Regions from separate parts of the Homo sapiens genome. Here region 1 is linked to region 2. The links are contacts of gene promoters, found by promoter capture Hi-C in human tissues and cell types (Jung and others, 2019). All regions are on one chromosome and are shown on one strand. Each heading gives the region's core, a stretch centred on a gene start or on the middle of the fragment in contact. The rest is flanking DNA. Distances are from core to core; before and after follow the strand shown. Region 1 overlaps KRT2 (keratin 2). Region 2 holds the start of KRT3 (keratin 3).

Region 1 (6,584 bases), core at 694-3,193, 150 kb after region 2:
GAGACCCATGGCACATTCTCTTGCAAACAAAATTGTCTCTGTAGGTCAAGCTTCTGGATACAGTTTTCAAAGCTGTTCTGCATTTTTGGTAGAGTGCTTCCCAGTAGTAACCCACTTAAAGCCTCTACTGAATCATGATAAATGCAAACACAAAAATCTCTTTGTATTCTCCTTCTAAAGAGCTGAGGAAGGAATGGGACTTCCCTTAGAATGCCTGCTTAAAGTTGCTGTTGGTTGTGCTGACAAAGGTTTGAGGTTGTAGGCCAAAAGCAAGGGTTCTCCTGCTGGGTCCTGCAGGGCCTTTGGTGTATATTCTGGGGAAATTTCGGAGAGGTGAGATGGACAGACGGGATGAGAGAGCTGAGGACTGTGGAAACCCACAAAGAACATCGTATCCTGTTGTAGAAACACACAGTGTCTCAAGCAGGAGAGAGGGGCTGGTTGGCAAAGCTTGGTCATCTCGAGGCTCTGATGGTCCTGAGGGCTGTGAGCCATGGACGTAGGCATGAAGTCCCTGGCAGAGGTGTATGGTAAACTGCACGACAAAAGAAGTCCCATGGGGACAGGGATCAGGTTGGGGAGCCTGGGATTTTAGAGAGGAGCCAGCAGGGACTGAGTAGAGGGGAGTGGCAGAGAGAGGAAGAGGCCTGTACAGGGAACCATACACCAGAGGCCTCAACCTTTCTTGCAGGACGTGGACAATGCCTACATGATAAAGGTGGAGTTGCAGTCCAAGGTGGACCTGCTGAACCAGGAAATTGAGTTTCTGAAAGTTCTCTATGATGCGGTAAGGAGGCTGCTCCGGGACAGTCCCTTACTTCCCACCCTTCTCACCAAATGAAAGTCCTTTCTGCTTGGTGAAAAAGTGGCAGAAGTGGGGTTTATGGACCAGCTGACTTCAATCTGCCATCATTCCAGGCCACTGGGGGGGCTTTCATAGCATAGGTCTTGTGGGTGAGGAATTTTCTCCTCCGATGTTATGGGAATAAGGTTCAGGAAACACCAGGACAGCTTCCCCTCCCTCCATTCCCCAGATGTCCATTTCCCCTGGGGAAGAGACAAGCCCTGTGCCCATTCCTGTGCCTACTGTACTTCAGAGGTCAAAATGCATTTGTCTCCTATCCCCCTCCCCAACCCAAGGGTGCACAGATGATTTCTGAAACAGGAAGTCCATTTAAGGTATTTGCCATGGACAAGCTTCTGTCTGGGGGCACTTACCATAACTGGCTTAAGTGCTGAATGTTAACTAGGAGGCTCAGAAATACAGGTGCCTCTCACTACAATTCTCAGGACAACCTTGGGAGAGGCCCAGGAGTAGACGGTTACATGATTTTCATCCCACCTAGTGTATGCTTAGTCTGAGGGTCTGCGTTTCCCTTATGCTGGGAGACAGAGGCCTCCTGTCTGCCTGTAGCTATGGCAGGATGTCATGACCAGACCTTCCTGTGTGTTGTAGGAGATATCCCAGATACATCAGAGTGTCACTGACACCAACGTCATCCTCTCCATGGACAACAGCCGCAACCTGGACTTGGATAGCATCATCGCCGAGGTCAAGGCCCAGTATGAGGAGATCGCCCAGAGGAGCAAGGAAGAAGCGGAGGCCCTGTACCACAGCAAGGCAAGTAGAGGGAATGTAGGAAGAGCCACAGCTCCCTGCCATGAGCTGGGTTGCACCCCCAGCTGGAAAGTGTACAGTAAGGTTATTGGTTTTTTGTTTAATGGTAGTTGGGCACCATTCCCAAGAAAGGATGTTGAGAATGGCACCAAGTCCTTTTGGGCATGTGAGACAGTCCCTACCTCTCATGAATGCAGCCATGACATTTAGCTGGGTTGACCCTCCCTGGACCAGTAACCAGCTCTCCTTCACTCCAGTCAGTCTGGAATGTGAGCCAGGCTGGAACTTCCTTGCAAACTGTCCTCTTCTCCCCATATCAGTATGAGGAGCTCCAGGTGACTGTCGGGAGACATGGAGACAGCCTGAAAGAGATCAAGATAGAGATCAGCGAGCTGAACCGCGTGATCCAGAGGCTGCAGGGGGAGATCGCACATGTGAAGAAGCAGGTGAGGCCCAGCCCTGTCCAGCGAGGGGCGGGAGGTTGTCTCTGGGTGTGCGTGAGAGTGTGGTTGTGTGTGAGTGTGCATGTGAGAGATGAGAGACACTGAGATATTGCACTCTAGCATGTATCGATCCCAAATTCCCCAGCTTAACATAATTTATGGCTTATTATAACAATTCTTAGAGTGCTCTAATAGACATTCCAAAGTAAGGATTATCGAAGGGAAAGAATTGTGCTCACTTGTTTATATGAGGAAAAGGGAGTCATAACAAATAGAGCAAACGTTAGTTTGATTGATTTGCTGCAGATTGCCGATGGAGCTTCCCGTTTGTGCTCAGCACAGGCCCTGAGCACCAGCCGACTGGTTTCATAGAGGGGCAGTGAGTATTGAGGGCAGCTGGCCTGGGGCTGGACGTTAGCTTTGGAATAGAAAAGGTAGAGGCAGAGAGTGGATTCCATCAGCAGCAGAAGCTTTGCCAAGCAGACCATTTCAAATGTTTTCATTTCCATCTGTAAAATGGGATCATGATTCAGGCCCTGTGATGTGAGGATCAAAGGGCACTATGGGGAAAGCCAAAGGGTGTCATCAACGGTGACATGGGAAGAAGATGTGCCAGAGACAGCGGCAAGTCTTAGCACAGTTGTTTGCGACTAAACTCCAGAGGGGACCTAACACTCCCAGGGCCAGTGGTTCTGGCTTCCTGCACTTCGAACACCTCTGCTCTCTGTCCGCCTCCGTCAGGCAGAATCCATTCTCTGTCCTTCTGTCATAGTGTAAGAATGTGCAAGATGCCATCGCAGATGCCGAGCAGCGTGGGGAGCATGCCCTCAAGGATGCCAGGAACAAGTTGAATGACCTGGAGGAGGCCCTGCAGCAGGCCAAGGAGGACTTGGCGCGGCTGCTGCGTGACTACCAGGAGCTGATGAACGTGAAGCTGGCCCTAGATGTGGAGATCGCCACCTACCGCAAACTGCTGGAGGGCGAGGAGTGCAGGTGAGGGCACTGGGAAGGGAGAAGGGGACCCTGGCCCTTCCTCTCATCTCTCCCAGAGCCAGGGCTGGAGGCAAAGACAGGGAAAGCAGAGAATGGGGCAGGCCCTCCTGACAACTGAGAACTGACATTCTCTGTGTTCCCCAAGCAGAAACTCAGGACATAAAGCATGATTGGAGAGTTACACATTTATCAACATGAAATGATGCATAAGGCACATTAAATTAAACTAAGCAGTAAGTTAAACATCCTGGTCTTTTCTGAAAGAGAAAACAAAATCATGGGAAAACAGGTTAGTCCTAGACAGTCTGAAACTTTGGTCTCTAGGTCCATAGGGTGAGTGGCTTCTGTGCCCTCCACCGGGTGACCCAGAATGGGGGAGATGATGTCTCGGAATGTGCTGACTGGTGGGGACGTGCTGACCGGAGCAGGTGCCAGCCCCAGTTCTTTGCAGGTTTCTGGAGTGACAAATGGAACCATTTGCTAACTTTCAAAGAGGCACCCTTTGCTTCCTCTGTAGTCTGAGACCTTTGTCCGTATTATCAGCATCTTGGGTGACTTAATCTGGCTGAAGCAATTGGAAGGGGAAAAGCTACCCCAGGCCATCAGCAAGCCAGCATGACAAACAGGGAGTGGCTTTCTTCAGGAGGTTGCTCTGTCCCTGTCTAGAGGCAATGCCTCCTATGCCCAGCTTGTAAGAGGAAGTGGGAAAGTTTTCAGTTGAAGCTGAAGAGGGTGGGAAGAAGAGAGGAATGGGGAGGCTCTACAGAGTCACAGTTCTTTCTGAACTGAATGTTCACAGGCAGCCTCATTGTATAATTTCTGATGTGGCATGGATTCTGAATAACAGACTCTCCAAGATGGATTTAAATACACAAATGGGTTGCAAAGTAGGAAGTGAATTTGCTTTTCAGTGACCTTGGATCAACCACGCAACTGTTCATTTTTTATCAGAGCAAAAATTGAGAGGGATTGACATGCAAGGTTGTGCATAAATGGAAGGGGGTCTGTCGTCATTGTGTGACCTGGCAGCATAGAAGAAAGTGGGGTGTGTAAGCCCTGGTGGCTGCTTAGAGAGGCTAAACTGCACATTTGCGGGTGGAAGTGGTAAAACAACATGCATACAGAACCTAAGTGTTCCACCACAACTTGTTTTTTCTCTCTCCCTTACAGGATGTCTGGAGACCTCAGCAGCAATGTGACTGTGTGTAAGTAATGGGGTGTGGTCCTGTTCCATGGGGTGTTGTGTCAGGTGGAGGCAGGGAGAGGCAGTCATAATCTCTGTGGTAACACCACCTCTCTCTGCAGCTGTGACAAGCAGCACCATTTCATCAAATGTGGCATCCAAGGCTGCCTTTGGAGGTTCTGGAGGTAGAGGGTCCAGTTCCGGAGGAGGATACAGCTCTGGAAGCAGCAGTTATGGCTCTGGAGGCCGACAGTCTGGCTCCAGAGGCGGTAGTGGAGGAGGAGGTTCTATCTCTGGAGGAGGATATGGCTCTGGCGGTGGTTCTGGAGGAAGATACGGATCTGGTGGTGGCTCTAAGGGAGGGTCCATCTCTGGAGGAGGATATGGCTCTGGAGGTGGAAAACACAGCTCTGGAGGTGGCTCTAGAGGAGGCTCCAGCTCTGGAGGAGGATATGGCTCTGGAGGTGGGGGTTCTAGCTCTGTAAAGGGTAGCTCAGGTGAAGCTTTTGGTTCCAGCGTGACCTTCTCTTTTAGATAAAGATGAGCCCCCACCACCACCGACTCTCCCAACCCAGACTCTCCCACTCCAGAATGTAGAAGCCTGTCTCTGTACCTCTAACTGGCAGCAAGTTAAATTTTTGTCATTTATCTCTGATGGCACTTTGAGGGAAAAGAATGTCCACATACAGTTTTTGAAAGATCTTCTCTCCAAACCAGTTAGTTAGAGCCAGTGACGCCTCTGTGTTCTGGGGCGGAATCTGTGCTGTCTAGGTTTGTGCTTCTAGCCATGCCCATTCCCGCCCCCACCATGCCTCTTTGCATTGCCCATTTTCCAGATGTGTATTCTGTTGAGGACCCAGGCCCATCCAGGGATTTCATCTCTAAGCCTGGCAGTGCTGGGGGGAAATGTGTTTCTGTGTATATAGCTCCTCTTGTCCACTCTGCTTTCGGAAGTGCTGTGGTCTGGGGGTCTTCATAATAAACCTCATTTGCAATTCATATCATGTGCTGTCTGCGTGATGTCAAACCTTGGTGGAAGTGGGCAGCCATGGACAAGGGAGGTTTGGGCATTAAGGAGGGGCTCCTGGGTGAGGAGCGTGCCTCCCTGAGGGAAGCCCAGGCGCCAGCCTCTGGATGAATGGGAGCCTGGGGATGGGTGTGTGGTTCTCAGAAAGTATTTACCAGACTTGAGGGCCATGGCATTGCCGGGAGGTGGACAGGTAGATTTGTGGAAGAGTCTCTTTTCTAGAAAAACCCATTCTTCCTGAGCATTTCCCACAGACTGCCCTCTCCCTTTTCCACAAAGGCTTTGGCCCGGGATCACTTCTCCTCAGGGCAAAACCGCTGAGCCCCTGGCACCATCGTGGTGAGTTTCCAAGCTCCGAGCTTCCAAGGCAGACCTTCCTCAGCCTGATGTAGGTCCTGGCCTCTGTCTCTGCGGGGGCTCTGAGCAAGCCTGGAGGAGGATACCTGGGAAGAGTCTGGAGGACTCTAAAGTGGCCTCCAAAACAGCCACTTCTATTTTCACAGGACACCCCTCCTGTCAGCGGAGTCCCACCACACTCAGCAAACAAGCCCTTCTCTCCTCTCTCACCGCAGCCCCCGGGGCCTGTCGCATGGATGTTGCCATCAGGTTGGCCTTCTCCTGTGGGTGTGAAGATGCCTTCAGCCCCTTCCTCAGGAAGGCCATGTCACCTGAGCAGGGCTTCCAGGGAGTTCAGGAATGGTTGGGCAGGTGGGATTGGGCATGCTTGGGGTTGGTGTTAGACAGGCCAGAGTTGCCCAAATGGGAGTTGGTGGCTCAGGCTAGGTCAGCTTAGCTTTCTGTATGTGGCGTTTGGTTATAGTAGCTGTGGCTTAAAGCCACTCAGAACCACTCCTGGAGGGTCCTTTTTTCTCCCACTCCACCCCAGCTTTAAAACCTTGGAGAGTCCTTAGTTGAGTCTGTGACCGTCTTCCTGTTCCCAGAGGTTGCAGGGACGGCTCTAATAGAGAACAGATGCATTCACTTGCCTCCAGACCAGCCAGGACCCAGGTATGAGGGTGCTGCAGGAACAGCTCTGAAGGCTGCAGGTGGCAAGGTGGCAAGACTCCAGGCTGAGCATTCTAAAGTGATCCGCTGATCAGAGAAGGTCCCTGAGAACCACCCAGGCCTCAGTCGTGGGGAGAGGTCTGTGGGGAGAGGGTGCAGGTTGGGAAGAAGTGGTGTGAGGAGCTGGCTGTTTTCGGGTATGTACATAGTGTAGACATGAACACAACCTTTAACAGGGACTTGGTCCCAGACATTTGAGGCTGGACAGGAGCTTTGGTAATCAGTGTATTTGAACTTTTCACTTAGGTGAGGAAA
Region 2 (6,057 bases), core at 451-2,950:
AATAATCTCAATTAGCTTGTGCTACCTCATGCAATGGGAGTTGAACTAGCTTTCAACCAGTTTTATCTGGTTGTAATCCAGTATAAGGGCTTAACCATTAGTCATTAATAATTAATTGATGGACTAATTCATTTTTTCAACAAACCAAACTTTATGGCACTTACTATTGGCAAAGCACTGTGCTTTGGTTCAAGGCACCCAGTATATTAACAAGACTGGAAACTCCTGGAGAGCTTATGGTTTTATCCTGGGGAGGAGCTAGGATGTTGCACAGCCTGGCAGGTAACACATGGGAGAGATAAGGATAAAATGGAAGAACCAGGCCACTGAAGAAAATTGTACTTCCTTTGCACTTGGGCCACTCCCAGCCCTACCCAGTGGGTGTTGAAGAAGTCTCTATCCTTTCCCCCAATTCTAAGGAGGCTCCTGCCAGGGCCATACAGACCACACCCTTAGAAGGGCCCAATGTGCAGCAGACAGAACAAAAAAGGCCTGTCCTGGAGAGATAAGCAGCTAACTTGGCCAGCTCCAGAGTGTGCAGGATGGCTTTCTTTTGGACAAACCAAGCCCAGTCATAAGCCTCTGAACAACCCCAGACAGGGAGAGTTTCAGGCTTTCGGAGTCAGACATATTCCATAGTGCTGCCGGCTCTGCCAGATCTGGCTTTCTGGGGTTTGTGAGGGGGCATGGGCGACTCTCAGGAGCACATCTCTCAAACAGAAAATGGTCCCACAGGGGCCCTGTGTGTCTTGTCCATGACTGGGTCTCCAGAGTTTTGCAAAGGGCCTGGCACACATTTGGCAGTCTGTAAATATTTGCTGAATTTGTTGTTGACTTGACATTTGAATTTCTTGTTCCCTAGGCCTTAAGCTAAAACCAGAGAAAGGCCAAAATGTGGGGAGCAAGAAAGGAAGCCATAGATAAACCCCAAGATGTGTAATAGTGTATAATTTCTCTGGGAAGTTTTAAAGAGAAACAAACATTAGGCATGTTGGATTTTGCCAGTGTCTGCTCAACATACATAGGTGTTAACTTGACTTTTTCTCCAAAGATAGTCATAAACCAAAAGGTCACTACCTCCTGAACTAAAGCTTGGGGTACAGGGAGAACCCAGGAGGCAGATTTGTGATAGTTCTGGGCTTTTTTCCAAGAAGGGAGAAGGAGAGGTCAGCGCTTCATCCCAAAGGCCAGCGTAGAGCTGGGCACATACTGTGCACTCAGTCATTGTGGAGAGACCTGCATCACTCCTTCCATTAAGATACTTTCCCAGAGCTGTGAGTGGGCTCCACTGTCTCCACTACTCAGAGAAGCAGAACCTCCCCACACCTCCTCCACTCTATCCTCTCCAGAGCTGGGCACCGCTCTGCAGGGCCCAGGTGCAGCTAATAGGCAGAGGGATGGCTGCTGAGCACCTGATGCAGGTGAGCGTGCCTCCTGGGTCCTGTCAGACAGAGCTAGGAGGAGGCCATGCCCAAACATGGGGCAACACCAGGCACCACCCCCTCACCAGGTAAGCCTGCCACCTTAGCACTTTTACCATTTCAGCTTATTTTCAAGGTGTGTTTGGTAGCCTGGAACAAACTTATTGCCTTGGAGGCAAACCCAGCCCATGAATATTTGGGATTAATTATCTCTCCTTCGTTTGAGCCCAACAACCTCCTCAAATGTATATAAAGGGATTTATTTTGCACAGGTCTTCATTTCCCATCCCTCTTCCTCTGACTCTCAGTGTCCCTGCTTAACTTACACTCTTCTCTTCGCCAAGCTCCTTACCATGAGCAGACAAGCCAGCAAGACATCTGGTGGCGGGAGCCAGGGTTTCTCCGGCCGCTCTGCTGTGGTCTCCGGCAGCAGCAGGATGAGCTGTGTGGCCCACTCTGGGGGAGCTGGCGGAGGGGCCTATGGCTTCCGGAGCGGAGCAGGTGGCTTTGGCAGTCGCAGCCTCTACAACCTGGGCGGCAACAAGAGCATCTCCATCAGCGTGGCAGCTGGCGGCTCCCGGGCTGGAGGCTTTGGGGGAGGGCGGAGCAGCTGTGCCTTTGCAGGTGGCTATGGAGGTGGCTTTGGGAGCGGCTATGGAGGTGGCTTTGGTGGTGGCTTTGGTGGTGGCAGAGGAATGGGAGGTGGCTTTGGTGGAGCTGGTGGCTTTGGAGGGGCTGGTGGCTTTGGAGGGGCTGGTGGCTTTGGTGGTCCTGGTGGCTTTGGTGGGTCTGGTGGCTTTGGTGGGCCTGGCAGCTTGGGCAGTCCTGGTGGCTTTGGCCCTGGGGGCTTTCCTGGGGGAATTCAGGAAGTGACTATCAACCAGAGTCTCCTGCAGCCCCTCAATGTGGAGATCGACCCCCAGATTGGGCAAGTAAAGGCCCAGGAGCGGGAACAGATCAAGACCCTCAACAACAAGTTTGCCTCCTTCATTGACAAGGTAATGAAGCTTTGACTGGTCATCCCTTCCTGGGCTGGGGACTTTGAATTTGACCTTTGGGACACAGTGTTTAAATGTTTCTTGGATAGGCCAGACTGGAGGGTGAGGAGTTAGGTGGAACTCTAGGGTCTGGGAAGATATCCAGGGTTGAGGAGTTTGTCTACATGGTCAAGTGAGGGGAGGTGTAGAAAGAAAACAGTCCCCTATTTGGACCTGAGCACCACACATCCTGTTTGTGGGAACCCCTGCTGAAGTTTCCAGTCATTGCCTCATTGAGGCCCAGGCTGGCAGGGCAGGCAGCCCAAGGCAAGGGCCACAGCCACCATCAGCGAAGGGTCCACCAAGAATGGGAGGCTTTTCAAATACAAGCTGCCCTCTGAGGCTTTCCAGGAAGCCCTTTCCCCCTCATATTGCTGTGCCAGGCAGAGGAGGCTGATTACCTGGAGCAGGGATTAAGAGCATAAGAACCTTAGTTAGTCCCAAGGGAGCGCAGAGAAATGAGTGACTTTGCACTCCTACTCAGCCTAGTCAGGAAGACAAGAGTGCTCGGTGAGCTTCTCCAGACCAGGACAGTTCTCATGGGGCTGCCTCCCCTCCAGGCCCAAGAGAGGTGTTGTCATGCTAACTGTGGCATGCCAGCCAGTGTTGCTTCCCAGCTTCCCAGCATCACTTCACTGTTTTTGAAGAGCTAGCATGTCAGTAGAGTCGTGGGTGGAAATGGTGCTGCTGAGGTTTATGTGCATTTTTGTAGAGTGTACTGTGGTTTTGGAAGTTAAGATAGGGTCATGAAGTTCCCAGGAACAACAAGCAATAATTCTATTGCTTTCAGGTAGGAGCTACTTCCCCTTCCTTTGTAACTTTCCAAACCACGCTGCAAGTGTAGTGTCCTGACTCATCACCCATCTGATCATAATCTCTCTGACTACAGTAGGAGCCTATCTTTGCATCTTTTCTAGGCCTTTGTGCTGGGGGCCCAGGAGATAGACACCTAGTCCTACCTGAGTGAAGGCCCCTCTGCTCCTCTGCTACAAGTGTTGCCTGATGTTGCTTCCTGCAACCATTGCAGGTGCGGTTCCTGGAGCAACAGAACAAAGTCCTGGAGACCAAGTGGAACCTGCTCCAGCAGCAGGGCACAAGTTCCATCTCAGGCACAAACAACCTTGAGCCTCTTTTTGAGAATCACATCAACTACCTGCGGAGCTACCTGGACAACATCCTCGGGGAGAGAGGGCGCCTGGACTCTGAGCTGAAGAACATGGAGGACCTGGTGGAAGACTTCAAGAAGAAGTGAGTGACAGGGCAGGAGTGGGAAGATGCCATGGCCCACCCTGTCTCAGAGTCTTGGCCCCTTCTACATGCCCCCTGACTGCTGGGCAGTGGCGTCTCCTGGCCCATTTCCCTCTCCTTACCTTCATGAAGGACAGCTTGGTTCATTCAGTTCCCCCTCACCTTCCTTCTCCAAGCATGGTGCTTTGCAAATAAAATTGTGGCAAGAGGATGAGTTTAGGCTGGGCTTGGTGGCTCATGCCTGTAATCCCAGCACTTTGGGAGGCCGAGGTGGACAGATCATTTGAGGTCAGGAGTTCAAGACCAGCCTGGCCAACATGGCGAAATATCATCTCTACTAAAAATACAAAAATTAGCTGGGTGTGGTGGCACACACCTGTAATCCAAGATAGTCGGGTGGCTGAGGAAACAGAATTTCTTGAACCCTGGAAATGGAGGTTGCAGTGAGTCAAGATTGTACCACTGCACTCCAGCCTCGGTGACAGAGCGAGACTATGTCTAAAAAAAAAACAAAAACAAAAAACGGATGAGTTTAGAGTTGGGGAAGCATTTCCTCATGAGCCAGGTTGGGGAAGATCCTGGTTCTGGCATGTGAAAGATTCTGGGACAACTCATGGTATGGTGATCAACCATCCAGAGGTTTGCCTGGGACTGAGGGGTTTCCTGGGATGCAGAAATTTTAGTGCTAAAACCAGACAGTTTGCCTGGGCAAATTGACTTGGTTGGTCCCCCAACTAACAGGGAGATAGTAAAGAGGATGTGCTCATCTGAGAGGGGCAGGATAGGGATGGAGGGAGGGAAGAGATGAACTTTCAGAGTTCCAGGGAACAATGGTGTTTACGATGACCTCAAAACCAAACTCAGCTGTTTCTTTTTTATTCACACAGATATGAGGATGAAATCAATAAACGTACAGCTGCTGAGAATGAATTTGTGACTCTGAAGAAGGTAAGGGCTGTGTGTGAGGTTTCTGAGGCTTGCAGCTGCAGGTTTCTGGCTGGGTTGGGGGAATCTCCTCACTCCACTGCCACAGAGCTGCCAAGTTCAGGCCTTTGGAGCAATAAACAGAAGTCAGGTGCACCTTAGTCTGGAAGATCCCTAAAAGAGTTAGTTCATCAGTCTTTAGTTTTTTAGTAGGATTAAACTTAGACCATCCTAATGAGATACAAATTGCCCGTTCAAGTGGAGACTGGTCTTAGACAAGGACCATCACTGCACCAGTCCCCTCTGCTCTTTCTTGCTGCAGTTGTGGTTTGCTGTTTGTTCATTGGGAGAATAAGGCCTTTATCTTCCTCTTTTCTCAGGATGTGGACAGTGCCTATATGAACAAGGTGGAGCTTCAGGCCAAAGTGGATGCCTTGATAGATGAGATCGACTTCTTAAGGACCCTCTACGACGCTGTAAGGATGTTACCTACTAAGAAGGGACAGAGGGAGAGTGAGGTGTTTCCAGATTTGAGGCTGGTGCATTTTGGTATATAGGCCCCAGAAGACATCTGGAATGAGCCTGGAGATGAGGACCCTTGGAAGGGATTCCACAGGATAAGCTGCAGACATGGGGTTCTCTGAGTGGCTGCGGACAGGGTGTGGCTGATACACATGTGGAGCAAGGAATCAGTGAATGAGACTGTTGATCAAGAGTCTTTCAGGGCCCTGTGTGCTTGTTACAGGGACCCCAAAAGTGAACAAGCTCCCTCTGTGTTGACAGGAGCTATCTCAGATGCAGAGCCACATCAGTGACACATCTGTGGTGCTGTCCATGGACAATAATCGCTCCCTGGACCTGGACAGCATCATTGCTGAAGTTCGTGCACAGTATGAGGATATCGCTCAGAGAAGCAAGGCCGAAGCTGAGGCCCTGTACCAGACCAAGGTGGGTGCTAGTCACCTCTTACGGGATCCACTGGAGGTTTCAGAGAGGCCATGGCCTATTGGACAGCTGGGTAGTGAGTTCCCAGTGGTCACTGGGTGAATGCCTTTTGGTTTTACCCTCTGAAGTCATCCTTCTAATGGTGGTTCAGTTGCAGAAAGTCTTGCCCCTGGGGGAGATGGTTGCCTGCTATGTGGGACTGACTCCAACTTGCTCAGGAACTACAGGGTAGGAAAATCTTCTACCACAACAACCCAGATGTTCTCTTTCCTGCTGCCTTGGGGGTTTCCCTGCTGAAACACAATGCAGTATCATTTTAGCAAATGCCTTACTGAGCTTCTGAAGGTTTGGTGGGTGATGTTGGAGGTGTAGAAACAAGTCAAGCAAAGCTGCAGGAATACCCCATCTTCCCTTCTGTTCTGCAGTTGGGGGAGCTGCAGACCACGGCTGGCAGGCATGGGGATGACCTAAGAAATACCAAG

What was found. The method cuts DNA at HindIII sites, captures the fragments that hold promoters and counts their contacts. A contact is called where the count stands out against the background at its distance.
Region 1: a contact is called between a fragment that was not itself captured here and the fragment with the promoter of KRT3 in region 2, in 5 of the 25 tissues and cell types used here (H1 embryonic stem cells, bladder, small bowel and 2 more).

What each region holds. Positions count from the first base shown.
Region 1 is chr12:52,643,210-52,649,793 of GRCh38, reverse strand. KRT2 (keratin 2) reads left to right here. Exons shown (of 9, transcript NM_000423.3): 4 at 692-787; 5 at 1,457-1,621; 6 at 1,939-2,064; 7 at 2,834-3,054; 8 at 4,225-4,259; 9 at 4,360-5,236. The coding sequence ends at 4,775. Among named protein-coding and RNA genes, the nearest start is that of KRT2, 5.7 kb to the left of the region's middle. The HindIII fragment of the contact is 3,386 bases long and covers 251-3,636 here.
Region 2 is chr12:52,791,760-52,797,816 of GRCh38, reverse strand. It overlaps KRT3 (keratin 3), which reads left to right and starts at 1,700. Exons shown (of 9, transcript NM_057088.3): 1 at 1,700-2,419; 2 at 3,486-3,706; 3 at 4,594-4,654; 4 at 5,011-5,106; 5 at 5,414-5,578; 6 at 6,001-6,057. The coding sequence starts at 1,775. RefSeq lists an enhancer at 5,912-6,057. The HindIII fragment of the contact is 6,438 bases long and covers 1-4,627 here.